2 separate regions of the Homo sapiens genome follow, and region 2 is linked to region 1. Evidence: promoter capture Hi-C in 16 types of primary human blood cells and fetal thymus (Javierre and others, 2016). All regions are on one chromosome and are shown on one strand. The core of a region is centred on a gene start or on the middle of the fragment in contact, and the rest is flanking DNA. Distances in the headings are between cores, read along the strand shown. Region 1 holds the start of PRTN3 (proteinase 3). Region 2 overlaps SBNO2 (strawberry notch homolog 2).

What was found. The method cuts DNA at HindIII sites, captures the fragments that hold promoters and counts their contacts. A CHiCAGO score of 5 or more calls a contact.
Region 2: a fragment that was not itself captured here is called in contact with the fragment with the promoter of PRTN3 in region 1 in 1 of 17 cell types (monocytes); the score reaches 6.0 in monocytes.

Annotation. Positions count from the first base shown.
Region 1 is chr19:839,434-842,788 of GRCh38, reverse strand. It overlaps PRTN3 (proteinase 3), which reads right to left and starts at 1,790. Exons shown (of 5, transcript NM_002777.4): 1 at 1,720-1,790. The coding sequence starts at 1,780. The HindIII fragment of the contact is 23,301 bases long and covers 1-3,318 here.
Region 2 is chr19:1,150,173-1,153,728 of GRCh38, reverse strand. The region is part of intron 2 of SBNO2 (strawberry notch homolog 2); the gene reads left to right. Among named protein-coding and RNA genes, the nearest start is that of SBNO2, 22 kb to the left of the region's middle. The HindIII fragment of the contact is 7,004 bases long and covers 1-3,556 here.

The DNA of each region.
Region 1 (3,355 bases), core at 541-3,040:
TGGTGAAACCCTGTCTCTACTAAAAATACAAACATTAGCTGGGCGTGGTGGCACGTGCCTGTAGTCCCAGCTACTCCGGAGGTTGACGCAGGAGAATCGCTTGAACCCAGGAAGCGGAGGTTGTGGTGAGCCAAGATCGCCCCACTGCACTCCAGCCTGGCAACAGAATGACACTCCGTCTCAAAAAAAAAAAAAAAAAAAATTAGCCAGGTGTGGTGGTTCGCACCTGTAATCTCAGCTGCCTGGGAGGCTGAGGCAGGAGAATCGCTTGAACCCAGGAGGCACAGGTTGCAGTGAGCCGAGATCACACCACTGCACTCCAGCCTGGGCAACAGAGTGAGATTCTGTCTCAAAAAAAAAAAAAAAAAAAAAAAATCCTGGGCGCAGTGGCTCATGCCTGAGTGAGACCCCATCTCAAAAAAACAAAACAAAACAAAATAAAAAAAAAGAAGCAAAAAAAAAAAAAAAAATCAGCCAACAAAGAGACCCATTTTGCAGATGAACAAACTGAGGCATTGAAAATCCCCCTCAGGTCAGGAGTTCGAGACCAGCCTGACCAACGTGGTGAAACCCCATCTCTACTAAAAATACAAAAACTAGCCAGGTGTGGTGGTGTGTGCTTGTAATCCCAGCTACTCAAGAGGCGGAGGCAGGAGAATCATTTGACCCCAGGAGGCTGAGGCTGCAGTAAACTGAGATTGCACCACTGCACTCCAGCCTGGGCGACAGAGCAAGATTCCGTTTCAAAAAAGAAAAAAAAAGGGCCAGGCGCGGTGGCTCACGCCTGTAATCCCAGCACTTTGGGAGGCTGAGGCAGGCGGATCACGAAGTCAGGAGATCGAGACCATCCTGGCTAACACCTTGAAACCCCGTCTCTACAAAAATTACAAAAAATTATCCAGGCATGGTGGTGGGCGCCTGTAGTCCCAGCTACTCGGGAGGCTGAGGCAGGAGAAAGGCGTGAACCCGGGAGGCTGAGCTTGCAGTGAGCCGAGATCGCGCCACTGCACTCCAGCCTGGGCGACAGGGCGAGACTCCGTCTCAAAAAAAAAAAAAAGAAAAAGAAAAAGAAAATCACCCTCAGGATAGGGACCTGAGGGGGCCCATGCTCTCTTCTTCCCCTGATTCCAGCATCACTAACTCCTCGACCCTTTCACTCACTCACTCATTCATTCATTCACTCATTCATTCGTTCACTCATTCACTCATTCACTCATTCATTCACTCATTCACTCATTCATTCACTCACTCATTGATTCATTCACTCATTCATTCGTTCACTCATTCACTCATTCACTCATTCATTCACTCACTCATTGATTCATTCACTCATTCATTTGTTCACTCATTCACTCACTCACTCATTCATTCACTCATTCATTCATTCATGCATATTCACTGAGCATTTGCTGAAGGCTGGGTGCTGTCCAGGAATTCGCCTGTTACTAGCTAATTCCCAAAACAGCTCCTCAGGAGGGAAGGGCTGGGTTTTGCCCGTTTTACAGATAGGCAACTGAGTCAAATGGCCAGGGCTCCCCCTTGCCCTTGTCCTCCCCACCCCTGCAAGCGTTGGTCCCGAGCAGTGAGTGGAGTCTCCCCTGACCCTGCCTCAGTTTCCCCAGCTGTGCCAGAAGGGCTTTGGATGGACCTCGTGGTGGATATTTCCCCACAATCCACCGGGGCCTGGAGGCTGGATGGATGGGCACGTGGCTCACTCACCGCTCAGCAGCAAGGCCAGCAGCACGGACGCCAGGGCAGGGCTGGGGGGCCGGTGAGCCATGGTGGGGTCCAGGGTGCACCCACGGTCAAGCTCCTCTTATAGCCCAATGCCAGAGGCCGTTGAGTTGCCCAATGCCCAGGCTGGGTCCCCACTTCCTCCTTTTGCCTTGGGAGCCTGGGAGTCAGAACGGACTCCGGGGAGGAGGTGGGGGCTTTGGGCTCAAGGTCCCAACCTTTGTGGGGGCGGGGAGGCTGGCTGTCACCCACCCAAGTCGGGGGTCCCTGGCCAGGTGGGCAACATGGCCACAGCCCTCAGAGCAACACATGCCCACGTGCCACCCACAAGGAGACGCCTCCCTGACGAGGTCCCTGTGGCCCCAGCAAAGCCGGCCGTGGCAGGTGTGTCCCGTGGGTGGGTGAGCTGGAAACGGACAGACAGCAGGACGTAGCAGGGGACAGGATGCAGAGCTCGGGAAGGCAGGGCCCCACCACGAGTGCCCTCAGTGCCTCACCTGAGGCCCCAGCGAACATCCTCCTGCCAGTTTTGTCTGGGGGTTTTCTTCCCCCTTTAAGGCCAGGATTCTCAATCAAGAGGTGATTCTGCCCCCAGGGGACCCTGGGCGAGGTCTGAGGACACCTGTGGCTGTCACGAAAGGGGAGCTCCTGGCATGGAGTGGGTGGAGGCCAAGGATGATGCCTAGCACCCTGCAGTGCCCAGGACGGGCCTGCCCCAGAGAAGGATCCAGCCCCGATGTCCACAGGGCCCAGGGGAGAGACCAGTGTTCATTATTTGGGGAAAAAAATGGCCAGGTGCGGTGCCTCACACCTGTAATCCCAGCACTTTGGGAGGCCGAGGCGGGTGGATCGCCTGAGGTCAGGAGTTCAAGACCAGCCTGGCCAACATAGTGAAACCCCATCTCTACTAAAAATACAAAAATTAGCTGCGCGTGTTGGCGGGCGCCTGTAGTCCCAGCTACTCAGGAGGCTGAGGCAGGAGAATCACTTGAGCCTGGGAGGCGAAGGTTGCAGGGAGCCAAGATCGTGCCACTGCACTCCAGCCTGGGCAACAGAGCAAGACTCCATCTCAAAACATAAATAAATAAAAATAAAAAATAAAAAATCCAGTCTGCCCCCTGCTCACACCGGACACCAGAATAAACTCCCGATGGGGCGTACGGCATAAACCCGGGGGACCCCAGCTCCCGGGACTCGCCTCCTCTCTCCCTCCCACTCAGGGTGTGGATTTCAATGTGTGCAGCCTCCTGGGACCTCAGCAGGGCAGAGGATCATGGGACTCAGAGTCTCTTGGGGTCTGTGGAATCCTCTAACCCTGGGGTGATTCTGCCCCCAGGGGTCCCTGTGTGAGGCCTGGAGACATCCGTGGTTGTCACGACTTGGAGGGAGCTCCTGGCAGGGCCCTGCAGTGCCCAGGATGGCCCCGCCGCAGAGACAAATCCAGCCCCCATGTCTGCAGTGCCGGAAACGGGGGAAAGCCGAGGACAGAGGATAAAATTATTTATTTATAACTGAACGGTTTAAACCTACAGTGAAATGGAGAGAAGCACTGAATGAACTTGGAGGCCAAAAAGAAAAAAAGCTTTTTAACGTTTCATTTGGAAAGGATTTCACGCTTACA
Region 2 (3,556 bases), core at 853-3,352, 310 kb before region 1:
TCGCTTCTGCTAAAGATACCAAACTTAGCCAGGCGTGGTGGCGGACGCCTGTAATCCCAGCTACTCGGGAGGCTGAGGCAGGAGAATTGCTTAAATCTAGGAGGCAGAGGCTGCAGTGAGTGGAGACGGCGCCACTGAACTCTAGCCTGGGCGACAAGAGTGAGACTCCATCTCAAAAAAATGAAAAATAGGCCTGGCACGGTGGCTCACGCCTGTAATCCTAGCACTTTCAGAGGCCAAGGCGGGCAGATCACTTGAGGTCAGGAGTTTGAGACCAGCCTGGCCAACATGGTGAAACCCTGTCTCTACTAAAAATACAAAAAATTAGCCTGGCGTGGTGGCAGGTGTCTGTAATCCCAGCTACTTGGGAGGCTGAGGCAGGAGAATCGCTTGAACCTGGGAGGCAGAGGCTGCAGTGAGCAGAGATTGCACCACTGCACTCCAGCCTGGGTGACAGAGCGAAACTGTGGCTCAAAAAGAAAAAAAAAAATTTTTAAATTAAAAATATATAAACGTGTATATATATATTTATTTTTATTTTATTTCATTTTATTTTATTTTGTTTTGTTATTTTTAAAACACGGTTTCACTCTGTTGCCCAGGCTGGAAGTGCAGTGGTGCGATCTCGGCTCACTGCAGCCTCTGCCTCCTGGGCTAGTGATTCTCCTGCCTCAGCCTCCTGAGTAGCTGGGACCACAGGTACGCGCCACCATGCCCGGCAGATTTTTAAAATTTTCTCGTAGAGATGAGGTTTTGCCCCGTTGGACACGCTGGTCTCAAACTCCCGGGCTCAGTTGACCCGCCTGCCTTGACCTCCCAAAGTGCTGGGATTACAGGCGTGAGCCACCGCGCCCGGCCCTGCCTGGGGATTTACCTGGAGACAGAGGGGCTGCCCTCTCCTATCAAGCAGCAGGACCTGCTCCAGGACTCCAGGGTCTCCTGGGTACTCCCTAGCCCAACACCCAGGTTGGCCTGTGGGGCGAACATCACAGACACCCCTCGGCAGTCCATCCTCAGAGGGCTTTGGGCAGCTTCCTGCCATGTTCTGACCGTCCAGAGGGGGCTCTGAGCTGGGGCCAGGGTACCCCTCTCGTAGCAGGGTCCCTGTTGCGGCCCAGACCCCTCCTGTCCCCCTCCCTAGTTCCTGAGTCCCTTGGGGTTGAGGCTGGATCCTCACAGCTGCCCCGGTGGAGCTCGAGTACCGGCCGTCGGTCAGCCTCCTGGGCCACCATAAAGGGGACTGGCCAAGCCACATCCCCACCGGAACAGCTCCATCCCCCGAAACCCGCCAGGAGCTTGTTCCGATCCAAGAATTCTATCTCGGAAACACACCCTGGGGACTAATCCAGGAGGGAGGGGAAGACAGAGCGGCACTATTTATAGTGGCAGGAAACTGGAATCTCCCCAGAGGCTCTACGGTGGGGAAATAATTAAGCGAATTATGGGATGTGGAGACAGAGGAGCCATCTTCAAGGATCCGAGCGGGAGCAGGAAGGTGTTAGCAGTGACAGTCGGGGAATGCGACAGGGCTGGAACCCGGCGGGGGCACTGGACACCAGCCACAGGGCTCAGGCCGGGGCGCACCCGTGCGCGTAACCGGCTTTGCTCCCCATCCCGTGTGTGAGGCTCATCCCACCCTCCCTGTTCCGGGTTCCGTCACATTCGGGTACGTCATGGACACCTCTGGGCAGGGTCGACTGAGTTCGCACACGCACAGCCCAGCCTCTTCCAGTGCCCAGAGTATTCAATTAGAAATAAAAATACACCGGCCAGCACAATGGTTCACGCCTGAAATCCCAGCACTCTGGGAGGCCGAGGTGGGCACATTGCTTGGGGTCAGGAGTTCGAGACCGGCCTGGCCAACATGATGAAATCCCATCTCTACTAAAAATACAAAAGTTAGCTGGGCGTGGTGGCGGGCGCCTGTAATCCCAGCTACGCATGAGGCTGAGACAGGAGAATCGCTTGAACTCGGGAGGTGGAGGTTGCAGTGAGCCACGATCGTGCCACTGCACTTCAGCCTGGGTGACAGAGTGAGACTCCGTCTCAAAATAAGGAAAGGAAAGAAAATCACCAGGCAGGCTCTGATTGTCTGGGCAGGGTCAGGTGCCCATCTCTGGACCAATTATGTGCTAGGACCTGCCATCTAAAGGTGAAGCCACACCCTCTGGCTGCCAGAGAAGGTCCCAGGGAAGACTCTGATTGGCCTGCCATGCCCATGGCACCCCTGTGGGGTGGGACTCGGGTGTGTGTGGATGGCAGGTCTCAGAGGAGCCATGGGCTGTGGGAGGGAGGAGACTAGGGGGATAGAGGCAGTCAGGACTTTCCCCCCGTCCCATCCCCTAGCCTGGCCTGGGTACAGGTGGAGCATGTTGGGTGAGCCAGGGACCCCTGGATCCTCCCGCCCTGCGACCCCAAGCCCCCCGCCCCCTTCCTGCAGCTGCAGTTCCCTGGCCGTGGCCCTGCCCAGCCTGGCCCAAGGCGCCGTGTGTGCCTGAGACGGACTCCAGCTCATCTGAGGAGGCTGGGTTGGTCTGGAGTCAGAGTTCTGTTCCAGAATGTTCCGGATGTGCCACATGGCCTTGGGAAGTTCCTGTTTCTCTCCAGGGCTGGCTTTCTCTCTTCCCAAAAGGGCAGGAGGAGGGGAAGGATCAGGAGACCCGGGCTCTGGAGCCCCTGTGGCTGGTGGCCCGGCTTCCTGCAAGCCACTTGCACGGGGTCTTCTCACGGGTGCAGGAGCTCAGGGTGCCCAGGCTGCCGGCCTCTGTGCAGGGGAGGAGCTGTGGGCTTTTGCTGATAAACTTATTTTATGCAAAAGCTGGAGGAGCGGGGCAGCGGTCACCCCGAGGGCTTTGCCTATCTCGAGGCTGTCGGGGGTCCTGGAATCCCCCACCCAGCACCTGCGGGTACAGAAAGTGGCCCCCGGCCATCCGGGCTGGTTCCCAGCCAGTGTGAGGTGAATGAGGGGCAGAGGTGGCCGAGCCCCAGGGAATTGCATCAGGGCCTCATAGAGGAGCAGGGCTCACGTGGGCCTGGGAGAGGTCACTGGGGGACTCAGGGAAGCAGGCGAACCCCCAACCCTGTTCTGGAAGCCAGCGTGGCCCCCAGTCCTGCTGGGATAAGCAGGATGATGCCCCCGGCTGGTGGTGTCTCCCCCATGACCACGGGGGCGTCCGTGACGGCAGGGTCTCCCCCGTGACCGTGGGGGCGTCCGTGACGGCAGGGTCTCCCCCGTGACCGTGGGGGCATCCGTGACGGCAGGGTCTCCCCCGTGACTGTGGGGGCGTCTGTGACGGCAGGGTCTCTCTGCTGCAGGTGAGGTTGGCCCTGTGCAGGTGGGGGCCCTGCTGAGGGGTGCCCATTCTGCAGGGCACGAGGTGTCCACAGCCCTGCCCCCGAAGCCGCAGGTGCTGACCCTGGGCCCGCTGCCGCCCTTGGGCCCGCTGCTGCCCCGTGTGCTCCCCATCCTCAGGTTTTGGGGCCTGCCGTGTGCCTCAAGCCGCTCTCATTCCCAAGGGCAGGCATAGTGAGGTTTTCCCAGAGAACCATGGGGTGG